2 separate regions of the Homo sapiens genome follow, and region 2 is linked to region 1. Evidence: promoter capture Hi-C in 16 types of primary human blood cells and fetal thymus (Javierre and others, 2016). All regions are on one chromosome and are shown on one strand. Each heading gives the region's core, a stretch centred on a gene start or on the middle of the fragment in contact. The rest is flanking DNA. Distances are from core to core; before and after follow the strand shown. Region 1 holds the start of NUP50 (nucleoporin 50). Region 2 overlaps FAM118A (family with sequence similarity 118 member A).

Region 1 (4,208 bases), core at 1,096-3,595:
AATTAGCTGTGGAGAAAAAAGGGATGGAGCTGAATACACAAAAACTGTAATAGTAAAATTGTAACTTCTAACTCATACCCACAATGAAGAGACAGGTGACGCAGTAAAATAGTCTAAATAAATGTAGGGGCTTCCACGTCCTAACATACTCACCAAATCAGTATATAACCAAAACGCAGGGATCTTTGTTTTGTTTACAGATATACTCCAAATGCCCCAACAGTGCCCAGCTCAAACAGCAGGTGTCCTGTCTGTCATTAGATCAGTGAGCTGGGGAAGTATTTCCCCAGTGAGCATAAAGTATTTCAAAAAATACTAAAAGATGCTGGCATCCCAGTTTTGCCATTTTCTAGCTGTGAGAACTTGGGCAAGTTATATTTAATTTTTGTGCCTCAGTTTCTTCATCTGTGGAACAGGAAGTATTAAGAAAGTTAAGATAAACAAAGACTGGCTTAGAACAGTGCCTGGAGCAGAGGAAGGGCTTAATAAATTATTAAAGAAACAAGTTTTATTAGAAGCAAAGGCTATAAACTATCATTTTCCCTCCAAAACGTAAAAGTTGTAGCATGGAAGAAGAATAACTTGGATTACAAACCAGATTTTTACAAATATTTTACCAAATCCCTATTTTATTTCAAAGCATGACACTTCAGACAATACATTTTACTTTTATGCTAGAAGTGGGGGGGAGAAAAAACCCTCTGTAAAATATTCAGAACAAGGCCTGGCACCTGGAGTCTTATGTCTAGCTACTGTTATGAAGAACTTAAGGGAGGCGGAAGGATCTCTTGAAGCCAGGAGTTGGAAACCAACTTGGTCTCTACGAAAATAAAGATGGACATAGATTAGATGAATAGAAATAAAAAATTAGCCGAGCGTAGTGGCGCACGCCTGTGGTCCCAGCTACTTGGAAAGCTGAGGCAGGAGAATCACTTGAGCCCAGGAGCTTCAGGCTACACAGTGAGCTACCACTACACTGAGGCCTGGTGACAAAGCAAGACCCAGTCTCAATCAAACAATCAATAAAAGGGAATTTAAAAAACGTTTGCGTTTGTGGGTAAAAAACCAAATTAGACATGATTTCTAGGTATGAAGCAACGTGGTGGGAGACTGAAAGTCTAGGTAAACTGGAAAAAAACATTATTTGTGCCTGATATAGTTATGTGGTCTCTGGCATCTGGTGTAGCTCTGCCCTTGGAAAGCTCAACTTGTCAACATCACCTTAAAACGAAAACACAGATTTGGCTACACTTAATAGTGAAGTGCCTTGTTGGAGGAAAACAACAAGGGGGCCAAGTAAGGAGACAGAAATACCTAATCTCCAAGCTGGTTCTTAATGGAACCGAGCAAATGGGTGATGAATAACCCGGGAACGCAGTAAGACAGGCCAGAGAGGTAATGCGCCCAAGAGAAGAGAGACGAGGGGCGGCCAGGGGGAGAGGAAGCTCGAGAGGAATCGCTAGGAAGGAAACGGAGAAGACCACGCCAGGACAGCCCTGCCAGCCCCCTACCTCCGGCGGGGCCGCAGGGGAGAGTCTCACTCGAGTCGGACGCCGCAGCCCGGTGGGGCCCGGGCCCCGCTTCAAAAACAGCCGGGGCTGCGTCGCCGCTGTCATCCCACCCCACCCTCCACCCGTCGCTCCCCCACCGCGCGCCCCGCCCGGCCCGTGCGCCCGACCCAGGCTCCCTCCCTAGAGTCCCGACCTCTAGCCCTGTACCCCACTTCCCAGGGTCCCGTCCTCCAGCCCCTTAAGCCCCTCCCCAGGGTCTGGTCCCCCGGCCCCGCACCCCTCCCCAGGGGCCCGTCCCCCGGCGCTGAACCCGCACCTCCCTCCCCAGGGTCCAGTCCCCAGCCCTGCACTCGCACTCCCCTCCCAGGCCCGAGCCCGCTCCCGCCCTCCCGGCCCTGGGCTCTCAGCACCAGGCTCCCGCCCTCAGCCTCTTCTCCTCCCGCGCCCGCCGCCGCTCCTCACCTCCTCGGCGGCCGCCGCTGCACTCGCTGGGTCTTGGTTGCGGCGAAACCCGGGGCGCAGCGGCGCAGGGGTCTGGAGCCCGCAGGGGTCGCCGGGCTGAGCGCGCTCGGCCGCTTCCGGTGCTGCGCTGCGGAACTCAGAGGACTTAGTGCTCGGCAAGCCCAGAGACTCAAACACCATATCCCTGGGGGGGCTCCTCACGCTGTGTTCGGCAGGGAGGCGAGAGCGCCGGTTCAGCCAGAGACAGCTGGGGGAACCGCGCCGAACACGCTCCGGGCGGCCATTTTGTAACTCGAATCTACCCCCAAAACCAATTCGAAAAAAAGGGAGGAAAGAAACGCCCGCGTTCAGCTACTGCGCAAGCGCGCCGGCGCTTCCGGCAGTAGCACCTCCTTCCGCCGGCCGGGCCCCTTACGCGGCGCATGCGCCCAGCTCCCTGGAAACCGGCGCGGGGCTGAGAATGCCGGTCTCGCGCAAGCGCGCACGCGCCGACCTTGATCTCGTAGCCGGCGCCAGCAGCCGCGCTTTGGGGCGTCGGCTCACGTGGGGCCGGCAACGCGTCTTCCAGGATGTTCGCGCGCTAGTCGCCGCTGAGGGGCCGGCGATGCGCGAGGAGTTCCGGCGAGGAAGGTCGGTCAGTGGACATGGCCGAGGCCCGCGGTGTCCGCGTGTGGGAGCTGCAGGGCTGAGGAGAGGCCGCCCGCAACCCTCGGGAATCGTGTGAGGTGCCACTGGGGTCGCTTCACATCAGGAGGCCCCGTCTCGGGGGACGCGCGCAGGTGACCCTGCTGGTCGTACCTGGCCGGGGTGGCCCGGAGGGGCTGGGTCTCGGCGCCAGGAGGGGCCGTGTGGGCCGCCTGTTAAAGGACCCCTCGTTCGCTGACATTTGATTTTGCATTGGGTGCCTTCTCTTCTGTTTTTTTCAGCCAGTGAGATCCGTCCTGGGCACTCAGCTGTAGAGCAGGGGAACGAGTCCTGCGCTTTTTGCGCTGAGGTCTCCTGGCCCGTAGGCCAGGCAGCCTCTGAGCTCCTTTCTCACCAGCAGCTTGCGATCCCTCATCCCTGGCCCTGTCACTCCCAGCTGTTTCCAGTGCCGCCCTTTTTTTTTTTTTTTTTTTGAGATGGAGAGTTTAACTTGTTCGCCCAGGCTGGAGTGAAGTGGCACGATCTTGGCCTACTGCAACCTCTGCCTCCCGGATTCAAGCGATTCTCCTGCCTCAGCCTCCCGAGTAGTTGGGATTACAGTCGTGCGCCACCACGCCCGGCTAATGTTTATATTTTTAGTAGAGACGGGTTTTCACCATATTGGTCAGGCTGGTCTCGAACTCGTGACCTCAGGTGATTCCCTCCCCCCGCCCCACCACCTCAGCCTCCCAAAGTGCTGGGATTACAGGCCTGAGCCACCGTTCCCGGCCTCGAGCGCCTTCTTATAAACTGGATGGTGGTTTTTGTTTTCACCTTCAAAGTCGAATCTCCCTAGTCCGTTTATTACCAGAAAGAGGTCTCCACTCAGACCCAGCGAGAGGCTTCTTGGATGTCGCGTAGGAAAGAATTCGGGGCGAGTCCACGGACTAAAGTGAAAGCAAGTGTATTAGAGAAGTGAGAAAGCAAAAGAATGGCAGAGCAGGGCATTCCTGAAAGCGGGAGGAGGAAGGCGCCCGCCTTAGGTACAGTGCTTGTTCAAATCTAAGGTAACACAGCCAAAGAAATCTTGGGGGACATGGGCTCTACCACGAGGGCCCACGACCAAGGTTTCATGCGCGTCCGTGTGAAGAGACCACCAAACAGGATTTGTGTGAGCAACATGGCTGTTTATTTCACCTGGGTGCAGGCGGGCTGAGTCCAAAAAGACAGTCAGCGAAGGGAGATAGGGGTGGGGCCGTTTTATAGGATTTGGGAAGGTAATGGAAAATTACAGTCAAAGGGGGTTGTTCTCTGGTGGGCAGGGGTGGGGGGTCACAAGGTGCTCAGTGGGGGAGCTTCTGAGCCAGGAGAAGGAAATTCACAGGGTTAATCACTTAGTTAAGGTTGGGCAGGAACAAATCACGATGGTGGAATGTCATCAGTTAAGGTGGGGCAGGGCCTTTTCACTTCTTTTGTGATTCTTCAGTTACTTCAGGCCATCTGGGCGTATACGTACAAGTCACAGGGGATGCGATGGCTTGGCTTGGGCTCAGAGGCCTGACACAAGGATTGTTCATCTTTGTTTACTGACTTTGGCAAAGATCTATATTA
Region 2 (4,208 bases), core at 537-3,036, 170 kb before region 1:
GAAATGGAACTTACATTGGTCCATTTTGCTAATTATTAGCAATTCTGAAAAGAAATGATAGTGGTTAAAAAAACAACAAAAACTTTAGCGATTGGATTATCTGTGCATTCTCTGGTCTCCAAGTTCACAGCTGGTCACATATACCTGCCTCTGTGGCTAACCTCGTTCTAGTGTGTGGTGAGTGTGCCTGGGTTTCCTGTTACAATTAAACGAGCCAGCACAGGCCTTTCCAAGCTTGCCATCATCAATGTTTTATGATGCCAAACTCGCAGCTATTAATTCCCTTATATCAAGATGACCAAGTTTAAGAATTTCTCACTTACCCTGGTCATTCCTGATAGATGAGCAATTTCTCAAAAGTGCCAAGGAGCACTACTTAAAAGAGGTGTTGCATTCAGAACAGGGAAAATACATTACGTGAAAAAAGAAGTAAAGTGTTCATGAAATCATTTTGTGCTTGTGAAGTTGTAACTTTTCAACTGCAGTAATAGGACACAGATATGAGATATCTGCGTCTTTCAAGTGTTAAGTATCACAACTGATAAAGCTAGCCTGGTAGTTTTCCTTCTTGGTTAAGGAAACCTGAAACAGGAATAAATGTGTCCAGCTATACATGTGTGCACAGCTGTAAACTTCAAAGTTACTGTATTTTTTATTTTTAGAGACAGGGTCTTCCTCCGACGTCCAGACTGGAATAAGTGGCCTGATCACAGCTTACTGCAGTCTCTAACTCCTGGGCTCAAGCAATCCCCCCACCTGAGCCTCCAGAGTAGCTGGTATCACAGATGTCCACCACCAAACCCAGCTCTTTTTTTTTTTTTTTTTTGGAAACAGAGTCTTGCTCTGTCACCCAGGCTGGAGTGCAGTGGTGCGATCTTGGCTCACTGCAAGCTCTGCCTCCCGGGTTCATGCCATTCTCCTGCCTCAGCCTCCTGAGTAGCTGGGACTACAGGTGCCCGCCACCATGCCCAGCTAATTTTTTGTATTTTTAGTAGAGACGGGGTTTCACCGTGTTAGCCAGGATGGTCTCGATCTCCTGACCTCGTGATCCACCCACCTCAGCCTCCCAAAGTGCTGGGATTACAGGCGTGAGCTATCGCGCCCGCTCCAAACCCAGCTAATTTTTAAAAACATTTTTGTAGAGACCAGGTCTCCCTATGTTGCCCAGGTTGGTCTTAAACTCCTGGGCTCAAGCAATCCTCCTGCCTTGGCCTCCCAAAAAACTGGGATGACAGGCGTGAGCCACGGTGCCCAGCCTGAAGTTACTTTAAAGTTCTAGTTACAGACTGTCACTAGGACACCAATTACTCCAATCTTCTAATTTTAAATTACAGAGGCAGTTTTAAAAAATAATAACGAAGACTGGTGAATTTTAGGGGTATGTGGGTTCCATCAAAAAAAGACAGAGAGAAACAACTGGAAGAGCCCTGTGAGTTTTGTACTTGAAAAGTGAAGACAGGCCGGGCGCGGTGGCTCTCGCCTGTAATCCCAGCACTTCAGGAGGCCAAGGCAGGTGGGTCACCTGAGGTCAGGAGTTCGAGACCAGCCTGACCAACATGGTGAAACCCTATCTCTACTAAAAATACAAAATTAGCCAGGCATGGTGGCGCATGCCTGTAATGCCAGCTACTCGGAAGGCTGAGGCAGAATCCCTTGAACCTAGGAGGCGGAGGTTGTGGTGAGCCAAGATGGTGCCATTGCACTCCAGCCTGGGCAACAAGAGCAAAACTCCGTCTCAAAAAAAAAAAAGAAAAAAGAAAGAAAAAGGAAAGTGAAGCCAGATCCCATACCTGGGCTTTGCTGTTTGCAGATCTGAGTGGCAAGGTCTTGCACATATCCTGGAAAGTGGTCAAAACAGTCCCCGTAGGATACAACTTTGATTCCGTGCAGAAGCATATCTGCCTGATGCTTAAAGAAATGGTCTTCATTCTCCTTCAGCACAAGCATGTAGTGCTCCAAATCCACCTTATTCGGCACGGAGTAAAGAAAGAGGGCCTGGAATATCTGATCACGAAGGGTCTCCCCACAGCCCACAAACAGAAAGGACTTGGTGCGGTATAAGTTCTGGAGGACTTCCTAGAAAAGGCCAATGAAGAAATTGAGTGCTCATTTGAAAGACAGCAAGAGCTTACAACTAACCAAGTCACATGTGTGTGCTTTTACATCACTGCTCCCTGACAGGCGTTCCCAGGGCCACGCTGAGGAGCACAGTTAGAAGGACAGTATCCTTCCCGACATGGCACTCAGGCCACCCCCCAGCAGCAGCCTGTGGCAGCAAAGACCAAAGCTGGGCTGAGCCTGCCTGTCCCCAGCTAAGCCAGGGTAGCTGGTCTTTGGCCGAGGCGGGTGGCAGTGCCCACACCCCTAACAGCAAGGCCAGCCCATCGCCCACCCCACACACTCACCAGTGCAGTCACCCAACTCAAATCTTCTCAAATTGGGTACGATTTTAAATTATTAAAACACAAAATGAGGACAGTAAATGTTTTCAGTTCAGAATTATGCACATAAAACACCCTGAAATTAATGTTGATCTCAGTGGGCCATATGTGGGAATTCTTGCAGGGGTGGTTTTGCGAATGAGGGCAAGAGAGCTGAGGAGGGGATCAGTGACCATGACTGACGGGGTCGGGTGGGCACAGGGAAAGCAGATTGCATGGGGTCACTCAGGCAGGCAGGAGGGAATCGCCAATGCAGCTAACCAAATATCTCAGAGAGGCTCAGTCTCAGCCCAGGTATTTCTTATCACCAAGCAGTATTAATGATGCAACTGAAAAGCATCTGCCCAGTCACTCATCTGCTGACACCTGTCACGGAATGACACCGGCCCAGGGATGAGCACTGAGGAACAGGGCGCCTAGCTGTGTGCTTGAGGGTAAATCCACAGACACCGAGTTTCTCAGTGCTTACCAGAAGCACAGCTTTTCCACACTGCATTCTAGGGCATCAGGAAGACCTCACAGCCGGGAGTAGGGGCACACACCTGCAGTCCCAGCTACTCGGGAGACTAAGGCAGGAGGATCCTTGGGCCCAGGAGTTCAAGGAAGCAGTGAGCTTTGATCATGCCACTGCACTTCAGCCTGGGCCACAGAGCAAGACCCTGTCTATTTAAGAAGAAGAAAAATAAAACCTCACAGAGAATGAAGTGTTATTTACTTTTATTTATTTATTTTTTTAGAAATGAGGTATCGCTCTGTTGCCCAGGCTGGAGTGCAGTGGTGCGATCCCAGTTCACCATAGCCTCTCCCTCCTGGACTCAAGCAATCCTCCTGCCTTGGCCTGCCAAAGCACTGAGATTACAGGCATGAGCCACTATACCAGGCCAAAAATGAAGCTTTACAACTACAGGAAGGAGAGCAGAGAATTTCAGACCAGAAGAAGCCTGGAAGAACAAGGACAACATTCTAGACTGCACGGGGCCTATATGTCATGCTGAGGAGTTTCACTATATACCTGGGCAGGTGAGAACCACCAAATGGCCAGGGCTCCTAGAGAGGGTACAGGCAGATCTCTGCTTTGAAAGGAATCATGAATTCCTTCCTCCAACAAATGTTCGCCAAGCATCTACTCAACATGGAGGCACCATGCGGGACCCCAGAGACACAGACGAGGACAAGAGACGTGGCCCCTCCCTCAGCAACTGTGTGCAGGGCCGACCTGAAGGGCACGGACGCCTGGAGCCTGGGAAGCCACTCAACTGCAGCCAATGGCCAGTGGCCACCAGTAATCCCTGAGAGGACGCACCGATGCTAATTAGGACGGGCCGTACCATGACTTCTGCGTCTTGAGTGACGTCTTTATACCCCGATGGGTCCAGCACCACCCCGCAGGGGTCCGTGTAGAGGCCGTGAATGTGGAGGACGCCGTACTTCATGTGCCCTCTTGCCCATTCAAGGACCTACCAAACATCAAGCCAAGAAAAAGAAACACATCCTCAAACTGTTTCAAACAGAGAGAAGAAAATACTGAAAATGGATTCATAGTTTTTAAACCTATCTTGGAAAGAATCATCGAGAGATGCTTCACTTTACACTTATACCTTCAAAACCTAAGAGAAACTTGGTTGTGAGCCCTAGTTATTCCCGTCCTACGACGGTACAGTCACACCTGTAAAACCTGAGAGAGGATCGGCTGTTAGCGCCAGTCATGCTGGTCCCATGATAGCAAAAGAGCTTCTGGGTGGCTCATACCTATAATCCCAGCTACTC

Evidence for each region. Contacts are between HindIII fragments. The CHiCAGO score rates a contact against its expected background, and 5 or more counts as called.
Region 2: a contact is called between a fragment that was not itself captured here and the fragment with the promoter of NUP50 in region 1, in 1 of 17 cell types (neutrophils). The highest score is 5.8, in neutrophils.

Annotation. Positions count from the first base shown.
Region 1 is chr22:45,162,062-45,166,269 of GRCh38, reverse strand. It overlaps NUP50 (nucleoporin 50), which reads right to left and starts at 2,345. Exons shown (of 8, transcript NM_007172.4): 1 at 1,974-2,345. NUP50-DT (NUP50 divergent transcript) reads left to right here and starts at 2,489. Exons shown (of 3, transcript NR_038956.1): 1 at 2,489-2,693. RefSeq lists silencers at 1,574-1,753, 1,784-2,013, 2,784-2,833 and an enhancer at 1,894-2,416. The HindIII fragment of the contact is 17,324 bases long and covers 1-4,208 here.
Region 2 is chr22:45,330,293-45,334,500 of GRCh38, reverse strand. FAM118A (family with sequence similarity 118 member A) reads right to left here. Exons shown (of 9, transcript NM_017911.4): 5 at 3,770-3,898; 6 at 1,791-2,076. Among named protein-coding and RNA genes, the nearest start is that of FAM118A, 22 kb to the right of the region's middle. The HindIII fragment of the contact is 3,100 bases long and covers 237-3,336 here.